2 separate regions of the Homo sapiens genome follow, and region 1 is linked to region 2. The links are contacts of gene promoters, found by promoter capture Hi-C in human tissues and cell types (Jung and others, 2019). All regions are on one chromosome and are shown on one strand. Each heading gives the region's core, a stretch centred on a gene start or on the middle of the fragment in contact. The rest is flanking DNA. Distances are from core to core; before and after follow the strand shown. Region 1 has its middle 69 kb from the start of ZNF365. Region 2 holds the start of ARID5B (AT-rich interaction domain 5B).

Region 1 (5,501 bases), core at 1,380-3,879, 540 kb before region 2:
GGAATTGTCTTCCCAAGATCACACAGGAGCAGGGACTGGAAACCTGAATTTGCTACTTGGAACTCTGGGTCCTTTTCTGGTACAGTACAAATAGAACTGCGGGACTCCTGAGAACTTTCTCATAAAGAAGGGAAGGAGAGCCATCCCAGAGTGCAGTGACTTGGGTTTTCCAACCTTACACTTACAGAATTTGGTTAAAGGTCACAAATTGTGTCTATGTGAGTGGGAACTGCTCAAAAAAGACCAATAGATTTGGCCAAATCAGCTCAACCCAATCTATAAAGGTATCCGATGAGACAAGACCAGAGTTCCTGGGTTCATGGTGCCTAAGACTACAGTCAATAGAAGATGCTGGATCTCTGCCTCGTTCCAATTGTTTACACATATGGGGACCCTACCATGGTCTGACCGAGGCCAATGAAGAAAAAGAACAATGAGATGAGCAAAACAAATATCAGATTTCCACTTTGAATCAGTGGTTCTCAACTTAGAATCTTAATATGATTCTTTTTTGTAGCGAAAACTTTCAAACATACACAAAAGTAGAGAAAATGGTGTAACAAATCCCACGTATCCAGCACCTAACTTGCACAATTATCACCACCTTGCCCTCTTGCTCAGATCTTTTTAAAAATAGAAACTGTAAAACCTCACTCTAGAAAAGTGCCATTCAATAGGTGGGATCTCAGGATCTGCATCTTTTTCAAAGCTCTCCATGCAATTCTGATGAGCGACCTGGTTGGGGCTGCCTCACCCCTGCTCTTAGAACTGGGGACTGCTTAGAATGGCAATCATTAAAAAGTCAGGAAACAACAGGTGCTGGAGAGGATGTGGAGAAATAGGAACACTTTTACACTGTTGGTGGGACTGTAAACTAGTTCAACCATTGTGGAAGTCAGTGTGGTGATTCCTCAGGGATCTAGAACTAGAAATACCATTTGACCCAGCCATCCCATTACTGGGTATATACCCAAAGGACTATAAATCATGCTGCTATAAAGACACATGCACATGTATGTTTATTGTGGCACTATTCACAATAGCAAAGACTTGGAACCAACCCAAATGTCCAACAATGATAGACTGGATTAAGAAAATGTGGCACATATACACCATGGAATACTATGCAGCCATAAAAAATGATGAGTTCATGTCCTTTGTAGGGACATGGATGAAATTGGAAATCATCATTCTCAGTAAACTATCGCAAGGACAAAAAACCAAACACCTCGTGTTCTCACTCATAGGTGGGAATTGAACAATGAGATCACATGGACACAGGAAGGGGAACATCACACTCTGGGGACTGTTGTGGGGTGGGGAGAGGGGGGAGGGATAGCATTAGGAGATATACCTAATACTAACTGACGAGTTAATGGGTGCAGCACACCAGCATGGCACATGTATACATATGTAACTGACCTGCACTATGTGCCCATGTATCCTAAAACTTAAAGTATAATAATAATAAAATAAAATAAAATAAAAGAACTGGGGACTGCATCTGCCTGAAAGAGGTAAGAAGGCTTCCCTGGAGTTGATGGCATGGCATTACATGACTTACAAGAAGAGATTCGAACATTCAGAAGTTTAACTGCCAGGGCCCATGCAGGAAAGAATTCATTCCAGGTGATTTGAATGAAGAAGATGTAAGGACAGAGGAGAGGGCAGGTTAAGGAAAAGTTAGGGTGGTTGATGCATCCAGAGACTAGCAACAATAGGAGGCTATTACCAGCCTCCTAGGGCCATTACCAGCCCTGGGGCCCAGGGCCAAGACAATTGCTAGAGTCTACTGAAAACTAGAACCATAGATAAGGAGCTAATTGGCAGAAGCTGTAATTTGAAGTAATTGAGCGCAGCTACTTCTAGAGACATACTACAGAAGCAGAGGGCTCAGAAGTTATACACTGACCTCTCTTCCCACTCTCCTGTCTCCTACCGGGGCCTCTCAATGGCCAAACTCAACTCAAAATCAGCCAGCACACCAAGAGATGTATCTGCAGGGATCAGCCTCCCAGGGCACAGAGAAGAGCAGAGAATGCATCTGGGGAGCAGAACAAGATGGGAAATGGGGGCAGAAAATAATCAGCAGGGGAATAAGTCAGTCCTTCCTGTCCCTGGAGTGAGAGGAAATGGCTGATGCTTCCTGGAGTCAGTCTGACACTTCTCAGCCCTAGAAGATGCCAAGTCTAAGAGCAGAGGGATTGCCTAATCCTTGATAATATCAGTCCAAAACTTTTGTCATGGATGGCATTGAGAATGCTTTGGTGGAACAGATGAATGTACCCCTTTCCTCACAGTCAAGCTGTACTCCATGGGGGCAAAAGTTCAAGACTGTAATCATTGCATATTTAAGTTGTCACAGTGGAGAGGCCTGGCTTAATTTTTTTTTAAGTTAACATTATTTACTGGTCACAGGGACATTAGTTCTCAGTGAAATGCAGTTAAAGGCGATTACCTCCTCATTGCCACTTATTCTCAATTTACCAACTAAAAGGACAATGTGGGGGTTCTGAGCACAGAAGTTTTATGGAGCCCATTTTCCCCTTGAAATCTTGAACGCTATTATTTGCCAGTTGTTTAAAAGCTAGCATTTCAGTTTTCAAAGCTACAATCACATTTATTTTCTGGTTAAAGAGCAGGAGAAGAAAAACAACTCCCCAGGTTGAAGTTAATGTTTTTAACTCCTTCTCCCCAAGAGACATATACATATGCAAGCTTGCACCTCTAGGCTCTGGAAACATGATAAGCCATGTAACTGCTCCGAACCAGGGAACTGTAATAAAACCAGAGCATCTAAACACAAGGCAGAGGAACCCGAGAAGGAAGGTAAAATTCTAAGCAGTCTCCTTTGAAAGGGTCACTGACCAACTGGGGCATACACAAAAGAAGGAGTGATCAGAGTGACAACAGACATTGAGGGTCTCTGTTTGTCTCCAGTTTTCTGAAGGAATGGAATAACTAATTATATGCTTTCAAAGGGCAGAACTAGAACCAATCATTACAGGAAAATCCCTTTCACCTCAGAAGGAAGAAGCTGATAACTGATTTATTCACTGCTTCAGTGCTGTACTTAGTGCTTGACTTATAAAGGGCACTCAATGTTTGCCAAATGAAAGGTCATCACGGGCACTGGTCAGTGGTAAAAACTGCCACTGTAGCTAGAGAGCTACGTGTCACTAAACAGAGTGTCCGGTGATTCAGAATTCAAAGCCCGGTTGAGCCCTTGCAGGGAGCACTGTTGAGTGCATCCCTGTATGCGACGGACAATTGAATCTGTTCTGTTTCTGGGGTTGATCAATTCTAAAGCTAATGGTGCTCCAGTGGACTAGAACTTGGTCAGGAGTGGAGGGTAAGGAAGTTATCAGGGCAAGTCCGTCCTCATTCCTGGGGATGATCAGAAGTGGAAGGTAAATCTCAGAAATTCCCCCCATGTTGGGGATAAAGCCAGCCTCTCAGATTAGAAAAATAAAAAGCCAATGTGAGGACTCCCTGAGAAGACATCTGAATATTTTCCCTTGTTGGAAAAGAAGAACCAGGAGTTGAGTCCACCATAGCCTATGTGGAGGAGTAGGATTTCAAGAGACAGGGCAAAGGTGTTTCTGCTAGGTGCAGGCAAAGGAAGAAGGCCAGGAGGATTATTTAGAAGTTGACCTTTAAGCAGCCAAATGACATCCATCCCTCCAAACTTCTAAAGGTAACAAGCAAGAAAATGAAGCCATCGTTTCAGCACCAGCAATTGTAACGTAAGCCTGTGAGTATCTCCCTCCACCCCACCCACCACCAAGTGAACACCTTTAAATATCCGCGATTTTGCATACAGTTAATTAAAGAATGTAGTTTGATTGCTCATCTCATCTGTTCTATAGTTGTGAGTCAATGTATGGAATTTACACTCTGGCTTTGATTCATCTCTGAGCATTCAATTTAGCAGGGAAATTTTCCTTCTCTCTTTCGACTTGGGATCCTGGCTCTTTAAATTCTATCCTTATTGCCAGGCTGTTGTCATGGAGAAAAATAACTTTAAGTAGCTCTTTGGAAAGCTTTGAGTTGCTGTTCCTTGCTATTTAAAGATCCCCCAGTAAAACGAAAAGTACACTCTGTTTCCATATAAGGCTCTGCCACTCCAAGGCAAGAGTGTCACTGGGGTTTGGTTCTGTGTGCTTATAGCAGTGTAAGACATGTCCCAAGCATCTGGGGATCACGTTTGCTAAGCATGTCTACCCAGCTTGGGAAGGCAAAAGAAAATCAGAAATCAAGACTCTGCAATCTGAAATCTTTGATTGACGGGGCTCCGGAATCATTATGAGCTGAAGCAAACGAGACAAGCCAAATCTTATAATCACCATCTATTCTGCCTCCCACCTGAAGTATTTGCTGTTATGTGGCCTTACTAAATTGCTATAATCCATTTCCCTGCCACCTCCTAGTGAAATATCCAGTATCTCAAACTTTCTTCGATTCAATTCACAAGCATATATTAAACATGTAAAATAGGTCCAGTTATTTGCTGGACATTGTAGGGATCCCAAAATATAGAGCAAGCTTCCAATTAAAGTAAGGTTGGAGAGATAAGACAACACAGATGAAATGCCAAGTGATATAGAATATGTGATTCCCAACTTTGGCTGATGACTGGACACAACCATGGAGCTGTATTACCAGGCCCTTGCATCTGATTTACGCACCCAGAGACTCTAGAAGCAGGCCCCAAGAATCAGTAAGGTTCTGCCCTGTGTGGATGACTGAGGTCTGTATGACTTCTAATAAGATCATGTCTCTGAGCCTCAATTTTCTTATCTATAAAATAAAGAAAATGGTCTAGATGGCCCCTGTGTTCTTCTTTCTCTAGCATTCTAGGATTTTGCTATTTAAAGAACTAATATATATGGTATAGATAAAATCGATGCAAAAAGTCAAAGAAGGCTTCATGAACAACGTGGGACCTGGGAGCAAAAAGAAACTGCCAATGGGTGTAGAATGGTTCTAAGTATGGACTTTAGAATCAGACATCCTTAGATTTGACTCTCAGCTCTGCAACATACTGGCTGTATGACCTTAGCCAAGCAATTTAACCTCACTGGTTATTCATTTCTTATCTATAAAATGGGGATAATAATAATATCTGCTTCTTGGACTTTTTATGGGGATTCAACCAAACAATGTAGATAAAGCACAAAGAATACTCATAATAATCATCAATTATGAGTAAGTGAATATTTAAATAATTTATTTGTCTTCTTAGTTATCAAGGAAAATATTTTGCCCACTTGAAGAGGGCCTTTTCTCTTTTGTGAGGGAAATATTTGCCTCATCACATAAAGACATTAGGTTTTAAAGGAATGACTTTAGAGATCGGATGATGTATTCATTCTGTTATTTACTAAATATCTAATATGTAGGAAGGACTTTGCCAGGCACTGAGGCAGTAATTCACAAGTGAGTAAATCACAAGTGATTCCTGGGTGTACTTTCAGACATTTTGTTTCTGTAGTTTTAAG
Region 2 (5,271 bases), core at 25-2,524:
AGTACCTGTCATTTATCACTTTATTCAACACGTCTTTGCCAACTCAATAGCTTTTGATCTCATTCTGCCTCCATTTCGTAATTTCCGCCCTCTTAAACATATCAAATACTTACTTTGAAAAAAGAACAATATCGAAACCCACCGAAAGAAATCCACCCAGACACGACCGAGCCAGACACGAAGGTAAATTTTCAAAAGGCAAAAAATATAAAAAGCATGTGATGTTCAAGAGGCAATAGCAGGAGAGCAAATGAACACACACACACACATACACACACACACACACACACACACACACATCCTTGAACAAAACCCTTCTCGAACAAGTTATTTGATCTTGACTAAAATCAGCAGTTGGATCCTCTTTGTAAAGCTGACAGCCAAACTCTGACAATGGCAAAATACTCGAGCCCCAGCTAGTGGCGCTACCCCTTTAAAAAAGGAGTCGATCCTGCTTGCCTGCAGAAGTGAATACAGTATTTTCAAGCTTGCCCTGTAATAAGCATTACTAGGGGGAAAAATAATAAAGAAAGAAGAGGGGGACAGACAGGTTTACCACCTCGCCATGGTCGCTATTTCTGCCCTGGGGAGTGTCTTCTGGGAGGAAATAAAGTTTAGAGCTGGATAAAAGTTGCCGGCTGGTCCTCTCTTCCCACAACAGCTGGAGCTCCGCTATGCAAATCGGATCCTTTGGCGTACATCTTACAAAGAAAAAGTCGCCAAGGGACAAAATTCTTGGTTTGCCTTCAAGGTGGAATTGAAAAGCCTTGTAGAAAATGTAAGGTCCGTGCAAGCCACACGGTGAGCCGACCCACTGCAGGGGGGGAAAAAAACACCAAATAAATAATGTAGCCATCAGAGCACAAACATCTATTCCCAGACACATTTACACACAGACATCCACTCTCTTAATACAGACGACCCAACAGATATAACGCTGGGTGGAAAAATAATAGCACCCACAAATTTTCTGCTTCCCTAAAAAAAAAAAAAAAAAAACTCAGGGCCCCCCACCGCCACTTCTACCCACCTCCCCATTTGAGGCGGTAAAATTACATTATGTATGTATGATCAGTGCAGGGATTTTTTTAAACAATAAAAATGATTTTGGGGGATGCAGAGGGTAAAAGTTTGGTGAAAAGTTTGTGGGGGGTGTGGGTGGGTGCAGAGGTGTGGGTGAGCTGGGGGGTTGGGGGGTGCCGGGGGGTGCCGGGATCGGAGGAGCGGAGGAGAGCGAAATACCTGGAGTGAGTTGGGCTCCATCTCGACGTTCTGAATTGATTGAACTCAACATTCTCTCCAAACTTGTTGGCTTGAATGGATTGCATCAGGTCCTGGCAGGGAAACGCATTCTCTGCCTTCAGCCGGCGTAATGTCTCAATATAAAACTGAGCTCTTGCCTCCCTTCGGGCACCGAAATGATTGAAAATATGTCCTAATATTTCTATAACGACTCAATTTTCAGCTCCTGAAAAAACTATGTGGGTTTTCTTCCAAAGATGGATTGATCAAATTCATAATCGAGAGAAAGGCGCCATACGATCTCGGCGGGAAGAGGATGGATCAAGGCAAAAAACACACAAGAAGATTTGTAAAAATAAAAAGCACCCTAAAACTGTGTGGAGATGTGATTCCTCTCTCTCTAACCGCTCCTGTCTGGGATATCGTCTGATGAGATTTTTGGAGGAGAGGAGGGGTAGCGAGCTCCACTGTGCATCTGACAGGACCTGCTTGTATATGTCTAATATAAAGAACATTTCCTGCAGAGATTCCGGGGCGCTGCTCCTCTTTCTAATGCTTCTTAGCAGATTTGCTGTTATTAGACATGTAGATTTGTTTGATAGTTAAATTACGCTTCCTCACTGCCATGTTTTCGAGAACTAATCTGTTAAATTATCTTTTGATGCCTATTTACATGGAAGGGAAAAGTGGGTTATCGATTATATAAACATATAAATATTAATGCATTTGTTCGCTTCGCAAAAAAATACTCAGCAAAAAAAAAAGAGACAAGTGAGCAGTGCACACACATCTTAGGATTTCGCAAACAATATTGAACGGACAGCGACTGCATTTAGGGACTGGAACAATAAACGATGCATGATAAATCAATAAATGCGAGAAGCGAGTCTGCTCAGAATATGAATTCAGGCTCCCGGTTCTGCGTGTGCATTCTTTAATTTTGAAGTATATACACTAGTACGTGTTTACAATGCTGATGGACGCCAAGGGCGCTCTCAAATGATAATGTGTTTATATAACCCAGCGCTACAGGAATAATATACCGACTCCTACCCCACCCCCATCCCCTCCCCCGCCAAAAAAGGGAGGGGAGCTTCCTCAATAATAGTTTGAAACTGAAAAAATCCATTTGCAAACTAGTTAAATACAACCAGAAATTAAGCTGTTGAAAACCGGGGGCATGAACCGTAAGACAATAAAGGCTTTAAATGTGTATATTTATTGTTCTGGAGCCCTGGAGCATTGCGAGGTTTGCATGCACGGCTATTATGCAAACACAGAGAAACTTAAGAGCGACAGAACAAGGAACAGGCAGAGACTGCAAAGCCCTCGCAAGCTCCGACCCAGCTGCCGGTCCTCCGCCAGGCTAGATTGCATTTTCGCAGTGTTGATTTAAAATGGTGTACTCGCTTCCCCCACGTTCCCCCACCCCCTTCCCCGCTCTCCTCCCACTCCTTCCAGCACACCCCCCCTCCAGCTTTTATTATATTGGCACCAATCTTTCCAAAGTGGGTCTGGCATGCTAAAAAAGTAAACATGTACTATATGGGGAATAAGGTCTGTATAGTATGACAGTTGAAACTTGATCTGTGATAAAATTACAGGATGTTGAAATTACTAGTAAGCTATTTTTAACGCTTTCGCAACGTTTCACCTCTAGTCACAGCATCTAGTTGAAACAGGATTACTTTAATGAAAATTATATTCACATGGCTGAAGTTAATACACCCGGCAGAGCACAAATGCCTCATATTCAGTGACTTGAGGTGGAAAGACCCTCTGTGTGTATTTTTATGCCTTTTCATAACGTCTGCGTCCGCTGCAGTAAGAATTAGGGCACTTAACATTATCTAAACCACATTTTTGATTCAGAATATGGGGAAGTAATAAAAGGCAAAATCTATCTCGTTTCTATACACACAGAGATAAACGAAAGAAAATGGCAGATCCTCTAATTACAATAAATAATAAAAGCCCATGCCAAAGAGCCGGTATTCTGAAAGCTGTCGAAAACTATTTTAATAATTTAAAGTAATATCACAACTCTGCACCATGGAGGACTACAATTCGCAGTCTCCCATCTTTAACATTAGCCAAATTATGACTTGCACATCACTCTTTAATTATCTCTTGAAATTTCATCTGATCTTTCTATTTTATAAACATGGGTTACAAAGAGAAATTATAGCTCTCCTGCGCTTTCTCTCTCTCTTTTTAACTTTATAATGCATACTGCAGACGTTTGATTAGAATCGCCCATTTTGTTCATTTTTAACATATGAATGGACTTGACTGAGGGGCATTTTACATGTCTTTTTTAAAAATAGATATGCCTAAAGCTTCTGTTAGTCTCTGTCGTGTTAGCGTAAATATATACATCCAGTTCAAGAAATCCTATATTAAAAAAACTTGAGTTGCAGTATTTTGACAAGATCGTATTTGAGATCGACTCTGAGTCAGTTTCCTGTATGACCAATGCAGCAGCATTTATGCAGGAAACCTCAACAGAATGCCTGAGGGTATCCCTCAATTGTATATTAAATCTCTTTCTTAAAAAATTATACAGCTCTTTACAGCATCTAAGCTACTTCTACTGTCTTTGGTGCTGTAAGTCTTTAAGTGTGTAACGAACTTCATCTAATTAGAAACCCTGTTTCTTCAGCTCTTCAAGGTAGGCACTGAACTAGGATGCATGCTGCCTTATCTCTCCGATAAGGTTTCTGAGATGTTAACAATTGCAGGGATCTGGGTCTGAATATTTTTGAATATCCGCAGCCTTGTAATCAGATGAATGCTAAATTTCAAAACCGAATCACAGGGGTATCTTTCCCCCTCTTTTTACAGCACTGCCCCCACCCCCCGTGAACATAATAAATCTAATAAATCAAACCAATACTGTGAATGCCTTTTAAAATTACAGATCACAATAGTGTTTACCCCTCCCCCCCAAAAATCCCTCAATTTTACCTCTTCTTTAATGTGATGTTTGATAGGCACCTGTAAATTATCTGTGTAGCAAATATCCATACAAAGAAAGTTTCAATTAAGATAAGGAGATTGTATTGAAACAGTTCTTTGAAGTAATGTAGTTAATAGCCTGTTTGATTTCTGCTTGTGAGAGAGTAATAACGTGGATTCAAGGCTCCATCAATCACAGAGCAGATGTAAGACTTGAGACACCGACACCCAGGGGAATAGAGGCAAACTCCTGCAGTGCAGGGTCCCTGGGCTAATGTAAAGTAAATACTCATAAACAGATTGAATGTTGTAAGAAGACAATCCATTCAGGACAGTTATAATCATGAAAGCAACTGCTTTATTTATCTATAAAAAAGCTTGTAGCTGGAACTTGCTGTGTATAAAAGGTGGGAGGGAGAGTAGTATATGTTTATATGACCCACTACTTCTGGGCTCTTTCTTGTACTGAAACACAGAATCCGGTACCCACACACCTATATTCTTGCTGCTTTACTAGCCAAAAATCCAACTCTCTAAGTTAATCTCGTGTATTTACACGGTAAAAAATTAAAAATCATTCTTGCCCCTCAAGGGGATGGGAGAGCAGTAGACATTATTCAGTGTCTGTGAATCGCTTCATAAAGGATCAGGAGGATTAAGTTAGTTGCAAAAACCAGCAGTGACATAATTAGGCAGCTTGGACTATAATAAACAGGATCATAAAAAAAGAAAAAAAAGGAAAAGTACAGTTTGAAGAAAGAAGGCGACCATTTCGAAAATGCAAACCTCTCTGCGTACCCCTGGGCCTCCCCTCCCCCAAATTGCAAAAGACAACTGAAGCATTTTTGACCTTGGCTACAATAATACTTCATGTTTTAGCACTTTAGTCAGCATTTTATCTACTAATTGCTACACACTACCGCATGTGGCTCGAATCTGCCACTGCAGCTTTCTCTCATTGGTGAGCGAATTGCTTGATAAAGACTGGGAATTCAACCTGGCTGTTTCCTTTCTTGCTCCCCCTCAGCCATCCACCCCCCCACCCCTTTTCTTTCCTCTTCCAGCTAGAAG

Evidence for each region. The method cuts DNA at HindIII sites, captures the fragments that hold promoters and counts their contacts. A contact is called where the count stands out against the background at its distance.
Region 1: a fragment that was not itself captured here is called in contact with the fragment with the promoter of ARID5B in region 2 in 1 of the 25 tissues and cell types used here (dorsolateral prefrontal cortex).

The regions. Positions count from the first base shown.
Region 1 is chr10:62,440,750-62,446,250 of GRCh38, reverse strand. It overlaps a transcript of ZNF365 not described here. Among named protein-coding and RNA genes, the nearest start is that of ZNF365, 69 kb to the right of the region's middle. The HindIII fragment of the contact is 5,382 bases long and covers 1-5,320 here.
Region 2 is chr10:61,897,702-61,902,972 of GRCh38, reverse strand. It overlaps ARID5B (AT-rich interaction domain 5B), which reads right to left and starts at 1,274. Exons shown (of 10, transcript NM_032199.3): 1 at 1,243-1,274; 2 at 560-814. The coding sequence starts at 1,263. RefSeq lists an enhancer at 1,082-1,584 and a silencer at 2,583-2,752. The HindIII fragment of the contact is 5,601 bases long and covers 1-4,079 here.